Regions from separate parts of the Homo sapiens genome. Here region 2 is linked to region 1. Evidence: promoter capture Hi-C in 16 types of primary human blood cells and fetal thymus (Javierre and others, 2016). All regions are on one chromosome and are shown on one strand. The core of a region is centred on a gene start or on the middle of the fragment in contact, and the rest is flanking DNA. Distances in the headings are between cores, read along the strand shown.

Region 1 (4,203 bases), core at 322-2,821:
TCCTGGAATGGAGAAGTGGCCGCCCATCTGGGAGACAAGAAAGGCAAGAGGGGTTGGTGGGAGGGAGAGGTGGCTGCACGGGCTGTTCTCATTCATTTGCTTCCTGAATCCTGGAAACAGCCCCAGAGAGTGGAGTTTGCCCACTGGACAGATGGGCACACCGCGGCTTCTCAAGGCTGTCCAGAGAAGGCTACATCCCAGCGCTAGCCACTGAGGCCTGATCACGCAAGAAGCCCCTTCCCAGGCTCCAAAGGAGGGCCCCCAATTTGTAGGCTGTAGCTGGGAGGCGGGCCCCTGTGTTCTAGCACTCGGAAAGGAATCCTGAAGTAAGGTACCCCCAGAGTCCTCCTTCCAGCTGAGAGGGGAAGTAGGGTCCAAACCTCCTCCTTCAGCTCTGTTCTCCCCTCTACCCTCCTACCACCCCTTTCCAGAGCCGTTGTGCCAGACACTCAGGGGTAGTCATGGGCAGACTAGGAGATGGCCAGACAGACAGAAGAATTCACACGGAAGAGAGGAGCCAGCGCTAGCCAGGAATCAAGCTGTAAGAGTCAGCCAGAGAGAATCAAACAGGGTCCCCTAGGAGTCAGCTAGCCAGTCAGACAGTAGAGGCCAGCTGGTGTCACCCAACAGAGGGACTGCTCAGTGTTAAAGTCTGTGAGGGGCACGGATGGGCGGCCAGACAGCAGAGGTCACCCTGGACAGCTAGCCAGACAGCAGGGGGCTGCCAGGTGGGACTGGACAGATGGACAACCAAATGGTGGTGGCAGGGAGGCTTGCCCAGGACAGAGAGACAGCCAACCAGACGGCGGGGGCAGCTCCAGATACAAGAACAAGCCAGCCAGACCGCAGCGGTCGCCCCAATAGATATCTAGATGGCCGGTTTCACCTCTGATGGACAGCCCGAAAGAGCAGAAGAGGGATCTACCCCAGACCCACGGCCAACCAGATGGCAGACTTCACCCACGAAAGCTGGGACCAGATGGACCGCAGGGTTCCAGCGCACCTCCTGTCCTACGGCGCCCTGGCCCGTGACACCGCCCCTGGGGCCCGGGCCTGCTCCGGAGCCCCTGCAGGGAGTCCTCTGCCCAGGGCGTCCCACAGGGCCCGCCTCCCCGACCCCGTCCGGTTCCCCGCCGCGGGCACGCAAGCGCCGCAGTTACGCCGGCGGCGCACGGCGCGCCATTCCCGGTCCGCCCTCCGCGCCCTAGGCCGCCACCCGCCCGCGATCCCTGCCGCGCCCGCTCACCGGCCCACGAAGTTCTCCAGCACCGAGCTCTTGCCGGCGCTCTGGCCGCCCACTACAGCGATCTGCGGCAGGTCCAGGTGGCAGCTCTGGCCGATGGAGCTGAAGGCGTCCTGCAGTTTGTTGACCAGCGGGATCAGCTCTTCCATCCCGCGGTTGCCCATGGCGCCGGCGGCCCCCGGCCCGAGCGCCCTGCGCTCCTCGCCCGCCGCCGACCCTCAACGACCTGGCCCCGCGGCGTCTGTAGCCGTTGCTCCCCGCCCGCCCGGGCCTCGGCAAGACGCCCGCTCCCGGCTCGGCCTCACGGTCGCCGCCTCATCCGGTTCTCAGGCGACACCCGACCCGAGCGACCTCCCGCCCCGGCCCCGGGGGCTGCGCCCAAAGCACTCGCGCCGCACGCGACTGGCCTGCTGCACCGCCACTCGGATACACTAGCCAATAAAAACTAGGCACGGGCCTATGGTTGAGTAAACCTTCCCCCTGGGGACCGTCTTGCTGACTTATTGGACAAAAGAACCGTCACTGTTGTGCAACAGCCAATAGCGGCAGAAAGCAAGTTGTCAAGAGAGGAAGGGGGTGTTTCCGAAAAAGGCACGTTGGCTCTGCCCATTGGCGAAGTTCCACCATCTTATTGGCAGGCAGACGTGCCAGTAGACAATGTGGACCAATGGTGTTGGGGATTGAGCTACTACCTCGTTCCCTAAGAATTTCCCATTGGTTCATATAAATATCACTTCGTTGCTCCAGCCAACCAGGCAAAAGAGGGCGGGCTTTAACATCCGAATCTTGACTATCATTGAGAACCATATCTGTCAATCAGAAAAACTCCCGTTCTTCCTTGTGATTGTTGGATGTCTGCAACAGCCTTCTGAAGTATAGGATAGATCCCACCGTACTCGCTCAAGGGCGACACCTCGTGGTGGGATCCGATGTCTCGATTTTTGAGTTTCCTGGCACTGGGGAAAACTACAAGTCCCAGAGCGCATCTCAGTTCCCAGACTGCAAACCAGCTCTGGGAGCAGGGTCCCAATGCGCTCTGCAAATGGTAGAGGCCAAGTCATTGCTTCCTAGGGATAGAACGCAATAAAATCACTCCTCCACGCCTTTGCAAATGCTGTGCCCTTTCTGCTCACGCCCGATCTTGACGCCGCTAACACTCCAATGTTTTCCCCCACTTCTTCAACTTTAGCAGATCATGAATCTTTTTTCTTTTCTTTTTTTTGAGGCGGGGTACTCACTCTGTCACCCAGGCTGGAGTGCAGTAGCGCGATCTTGGCTCACTGCAACCTCCGCCTCCCCGGTTCAACCAATTCTCCTGCCTCAGCCTCCCGAATAGCTGGGATTACAAGTGTGAGCCACCACGCCCAGCTAATTTTGTATTTTTAGTAGACGGGGTTTCACCATATTGGCCAGGCTGGTCTCGAACGCCTGGCCTCAAGTGATCCGCCCGTCTTGGCCTCCCAAAGTGTTGGAATTACAGGTGTGAGCCACCGCGTCTAGCTAATGAATCTTCTTTTCTTAGAAACTGGGTCCTTACTCTGTTGCCCAGGCTGGGGTGCAGTAGTGCACTCATAGCTCAATTCAACAAGCACCTGGGCTCAAACGATCCTCCCGCCTCAGCGTCCCGAGTAGCTGGAACCACAGACGTGCGCAACTATGCCCAGCTAATTATTTTTATTTTATTTTTTATAGAGACAGGGTCTTGCTGTGTTGTCCAGGCTGGTCTCAAACTCCTGCGCCCAAACGACCCTCACAGGCCGGCCTCCCAAAAGTGCTGGGATTACATGTGTGAACCCCCCCAACTGGCTTTAGATCTTTTTGAGTACCCACTAAAACTCAACAAATCCTCTCCCCGTGAAAAGACACGCTATTTTGTAGGCAAAATTGGGGTTCTGGGAACTGGAACTCCTGACAGTGGACAGAGACAAATAGGAGGATTTGAAGTGTTTTGACCCCTCTGGAGACAAATAGGCCAGAGACAAGGAAACCCAGTGAGAAGGCAGGAGCAGGTAAGTGCTCTGACCTGAGGCAGCACAAGAAGATGGAGAAAGAGGAGGAGGGTGGCTCATGGCATTTGCCTGTTTTGTGACCCAAAACCCCAGGTCTCAAAGAAATAGGCAAAAAGCGCCAGGTGCGGTGGCTCATGCCTGTAATCCCAGCACTTTGGGAGGCCAAGGAGGGCAGATCACCTGAGGTTAGAGGTTCGAAACCAGCTTGGCTAACATAGTGAAACCACGTTTCTACTAAAAATACAAAAAATTAGCCAGGCGTGGTGGTGCGTGCCTGTAATCCCAGCTACTCGAGAGGCTGAGGCAGGAGAATCGCTTGAACACGGGACGCAGAAGTTGCGGTGAGCTGAGATCGCACCGCTGCACTCCAGCCTGGGCAACAAGAGCAAAACCCCGTCTCAAAAACAAATAAACAAACAAACAAAAACGTTGAGGAAACTCTTCATGTACTGAAGTATAAATAATTTGAGATATACTAAGAGGAAAAAACAAGCAAGGTACAGAACTGTGTGTGAAGGATGCTGACATGCATGAAAACCATATGTACACACGGAAAATTGCTGGAAAAATACATAAATTGATAAAAGTAGTTGCACTTTTGATGTGATTTGAATTGTGGATTACATACATGTATTACTTTTTCACTTTTTTTTTTTTTTGAAACAGAGTCTTGCTCTGTAGCCCAGGCTGGAGTGCAGTGATGCAATCTCAGCTCACTGCAACCTCCGCCTCCCGGGTTCAAATGATTCTCCTGCCTCAGCCTTTCAAGTAGCTGGGACTACAGGCGCCTGCCACCATACCTGGCTAATTTTTGTATTTTTAGTAGAGATGGGGTTTCACCATGTTGGCCAGGCTGGTCTCGAACTCCTGACCCAGATGACCCTCCCTCCTTGGCCTCCCAAAGTGCTGGGATTGCAGGTGTGAGCCACCGCGCTTGGACTTTTTTTTTCT
Region 2 (3,855 bases), core at 792-3,291, 140 kb before region 1:
GCCAACACAGGGAAATTCTGTCTATATTAAAAATATAAATAATTGGCCAGGCGCAGTGGCTCACGCCTGTAATCCCCACACTTTGGGAGGCCAAGGCAGGTGGATCACTAGGTCAGTAGATCGAGACCATCCTGGCTAACACTGTGAAACCCCGTCTCTACTAAAAATACAAAAAATTAGCCAGGCGTGCTGGCACGTGCCTGTAGTCCCACTTACTCAGGAGGCTGAGGCAGGAGAATCACTTGAACCCGGGAGGCGGAGGTTGCAGTGAGCTGAGATGGCGCCACTGAACTCCAGCCTGGGTGACAGAGCAAGACTCTGTCTCAAAAAGAAACAAACAAAACAAAAAACAACAAAACCCCACAAATAATTAGCCAGGTGTGGTGCACACCTGTAATTCCAGCTACTTCAGAGGCTGAGGCACAAGAATAGTTTGAACCCGGGAAGTGGAGGGTGCACTGAGCTGAGATCGTGCTACTGCACTCCAGCCTGGGTGACACAGAGAGACCCCATCTGAAGAAACAAACAAAAAAAGAGATGGCTGGGCACGGTGGCTCACGCCTGTAATCCCAGCCCTTTGGGAGACTGAGGTGGGTGGATCACCTGAGGTCAGGAGTTCGAGATCAACCTGGCCAACATAGTGAAACCTCGTCTCTACTAAAAATACAAAAATTAGCCAGGTGTTACGTGCCTGTAATCCCAGCTACTTGGGACGCTGAGGCAGGAGAATCGATTGAACCCAAAAGGTGGAGGTTGCAGTGAGCCGAGATTGGGCCATTGCCTTCCAGTCTGGGTGACACAGCTAGAATCTGTCTCAAAAAAAAAAAAAAAAAAAAAAAAAGAATATATATCTGAAGCTTCAGGGCACAATCTTGCCTCCATGAGGGGGAGAAACTACCTGAGAATAAGACAGAAGAGGAGCTGAGAAGGCAAATGCTTTCTGTCATTTTTCAGCACCTGGATCCAGCCATATCTGAAGTCAGCCATGTAAACTGACTTCAGCTCAGTGAACCAACAAATCCCCTCTTGCTGGTAGAGCCAGTGTGAGTCAGGTTTTTATTACTTGCAGTCTGGGTGCCAGTGGCCAGATGACATCCACCCCCAGCCCAACGGTAGACCCTGAGATCCACCCAGAAGCTAGTCACACAGGCATGGGAGTGGCAGTTCCAGAGTCACCTTCTCAGCACAAGACTTCGCTTCCCCTTCCTGGAGAAAGAGGAGATGCCCTGACCCCAAGGGAGGTGAGGAGCTAAGCCAGAAGAGGGAAGAAGACAGACGCTTGGTATTCTCACAATGTCAGCCTTGTTCATTGATTCACCTGGGGCAGAAGGGGTGTTGTCAGCTCCCTACTCCAAGGCCACAAGGCCAAGGTGAGAGAAGGGGGCCTTTGATAGAGGAGCCTGAGGCCGGGAAGGACAGAGAACTGCCCTGTCATAGCTGCATGTTGGCCTCGGCTGGCAACAAGATTATTTTTTGCAGTGAAAAAGTTCTTTTTAAAAGTTTTTTTGGGCCAGGCGCGGTGGCTCATGGCTGTAATCCCAGCACTTTGGGAGGCCGATGTGGGCGGATCACTTGAGGTCAGGAGTTGAAGACCACCCTGGCCAACATGGTGAAACCCCATCTCTACTAAAAAATACAAAAATTAGCAGGGTGTGGTGGTTGGCGCCTGTAGTCCCAGCTACTCGGGAGGCTGAGGCACGAGAATCGCTTGAGCCTGGGAGGCAAAGGTTGCAGTGAGCCGAGATTGGGCCACTGCACTTCAGCCTGGGCGACAGAGTGAGACTCTGTCTCAAAAATTAAAAAAAAAAAAAAGTTTTTACAGACAGGGTCTCCCTCTGTCACCCAGGCTGGAATGCAGTGGTGCGATCATGGCTCACTATATCCTCTACCTCCCCGGCTTAAGTGATCCACCTGCCTCAGCCTACTGACACATGCCAGCAGTCCCTCCTAATTAAAAAAAAAAAAAAAAAAACATTAGCCGGACGGGGTAGCTCACGCCTGTAATCTCAGCACTTTGGGAGGCTGAGGTGGGCGGATCACAAGATCAGGAGATTGAGATCATCCTGGCTAACACTGTGAAACCCCTTCTTACTAAAAAAAAAAATACAAAAAATTAGCTGGGCATGGTGGCACATGCCTGTAGTCCCAGCTACTCGGGAGGCTCTGAGGCAGGAGAATCGCTTGAACCCGGGAGGCAGAGGTTGCAGTGAGCCGAGATCGTGCCACTGTACTCCAGCCTGGGCGACAGACCGAGACTGTCTCAAAAAAAAAAAAAAAATTGGGGGGAGCTGGGCATGGTGGCTCACGCCTGTAATTCCAGCACTTTGTGAGGCCGAGGCAGGCAGAACACCTGAGGTCAGGAGTTTGAGAGCAGCCTGGCCAGCATTGTGAAACCCCATCTCTACTAAAACTCAAAAAGTAGCTGGGCATGGTGGTGCACGCCTGTAATCCCAGCTACTCGGGAGGCTGAGGCAGGAGAATTGCTTGAACCTCGGAGGTAGAGGTTGCAGTGAGACTCGAGAGGCTGAGGCAGGAGAATTGCTTGAACCTCGGAGGTAGAGATTGCAGTGAGCTGGGGTCACACCACTGCACTCCAGCCTGGGCGACAGAGTGAGTCCCTGTCTTTACAAAAAATAGACATATTAGCCAGGCGTGGTGGTGCACGGCTGTAGTCCCAGCTGCTAGGGAGACTGAGAAGGGAAGATTGATTGAGCCCAGGAAGTGGAGGCTGCAGTGAGCTGTGATTGCGCCACTGCACTCTAGCCTGGTCAACAAAGCAAGACCCCTATCTAAAAAAAAAATAAAATAATTTTTTTTTTTTTTTGTAGAGACAGGGTCTCACTATGTTGCCCAGGCTGATCTTGAACTCCTTGGCTCAAGGAATCGTCCTGCCTCAGCCTCCCAAAGTCCTGGGCTTATAGGCGTGGGTCATTGCACCCGGCCAGGAAAGTTCTGACTGATGGTAACACAGAAGGCCACCAAAGGCTCCTCCCTCCTGCTTCTTGACCCATAACCCATGTCCAGCCTCCTCATTCAGAGATCAGAAAAGGACATCAGCCCTGCCAGGGTTCCCTCACTCAGGTGAAAAGATCGAATCCTTGCTGTGGTCTACAAGACCCCCCACGATCCTCCTGGTGAACTCCCTGCCCCGCCTCTCCCCATTTTCCTCCTTGTTCACCATCCTTCAGCCATACTGGGCTCCTCAGACACACCAGGGAAGCTTCAGCCTCGGGGCCTTTGCACATCCTGTATCCTCTGCCTGCAACACATGCCCTGGATATCCACATGATTGGCTCCTCCTCATCATTCAGTTTTTTGCTCAAATGCCACCTCCTCAGAGAGGGCTTCCCTGATTGCCCTACTCTACTTCAGAGTCCAGAGGGCTGACCATTAGAACATGGGGCCAGTCGCCCTACTCTACTTCAAATAATGACATCCTCACCCAGGTGGATTTCATCTGGTGCCCTGCTGGCAGGTTGAATATATATTGGATTTCATGTTTATCATCTGTCCTCATCCGCCTGGAATGTCAGCCTGGAATGTCTTTGGGCAAGCCCAAAGACAGTTCTTGGTCCATAGTAAGTGCTCAGAAACCTTATGTGGCTCATGCTGGGCATGGTGACTCACATCTGTAATCCCAGCTACTCTGGAGGCCGAGGTGGGAGGATCACTTGAGGTTAAGAGTTCAAGACTAGCCTGGTCAATATCTTTTTTTTTTTTGAGACAGAATCTTGCTCTGTCACCCATGCTGGAGTGCAATGGCACTGTCTTGGCTCACTGTAACCTCCGCCTCCCAGATTCAAATGATCCTCCTGCCTCAGCCTCCTGAGTAGCTGGGATTACACACGCATGCCA

Evidence for each region. Contacts are between HindIII fragments. The CHiCAGO score rates a contact against its expected background, and 5 or more counts as called.
Region 2: a fragment that was not itself captured here is called in contact with the fragment with the promoter of DNM2 in region 1 in 7 of 17 cell types (neutrophils, endothelial precursors, monocytes and 4 more); the score reaches 12.8 in neutrophils.

What each region holds. Positions count from the first base shown.
Region 1 is chr19:10,715,447-10,719,649 of GRCh38, reverse strand. It overlaps DNM2 (dynamin 2), which reads right to left and starts at 1,571. Exons shown (of 21, transcript NM_001005361.3): 1 at 1,247-1,571. The coding sequence starts at 1,407. MIR638 (microRNA 638) reads right to left here and starts at 1,246; the gene lies at 1,147-1,246. RefSeq lists enhancers at 413-552, 1,993-2,112, 2,303-2,492 and silencers at 1,043-1,712, 3,844-4,033. The HindIII fragment of the contact is 21,985 bases long and covers 1-4,203 here.
Region 2 is chr19:10,852,017-10,855,871 of GRCh38, reverse strand. The region is part of intron 2 of C19orf38 (chromosome 19 open reading frame 38); the gene reads right to left. Among named protein-coding and RNA genes, the nearest start is that of C19orf38, 5.5 kb to the right of the region's middle. The HindIII fragment of the contact is 2,363 bases long and covers 860-3,222 here.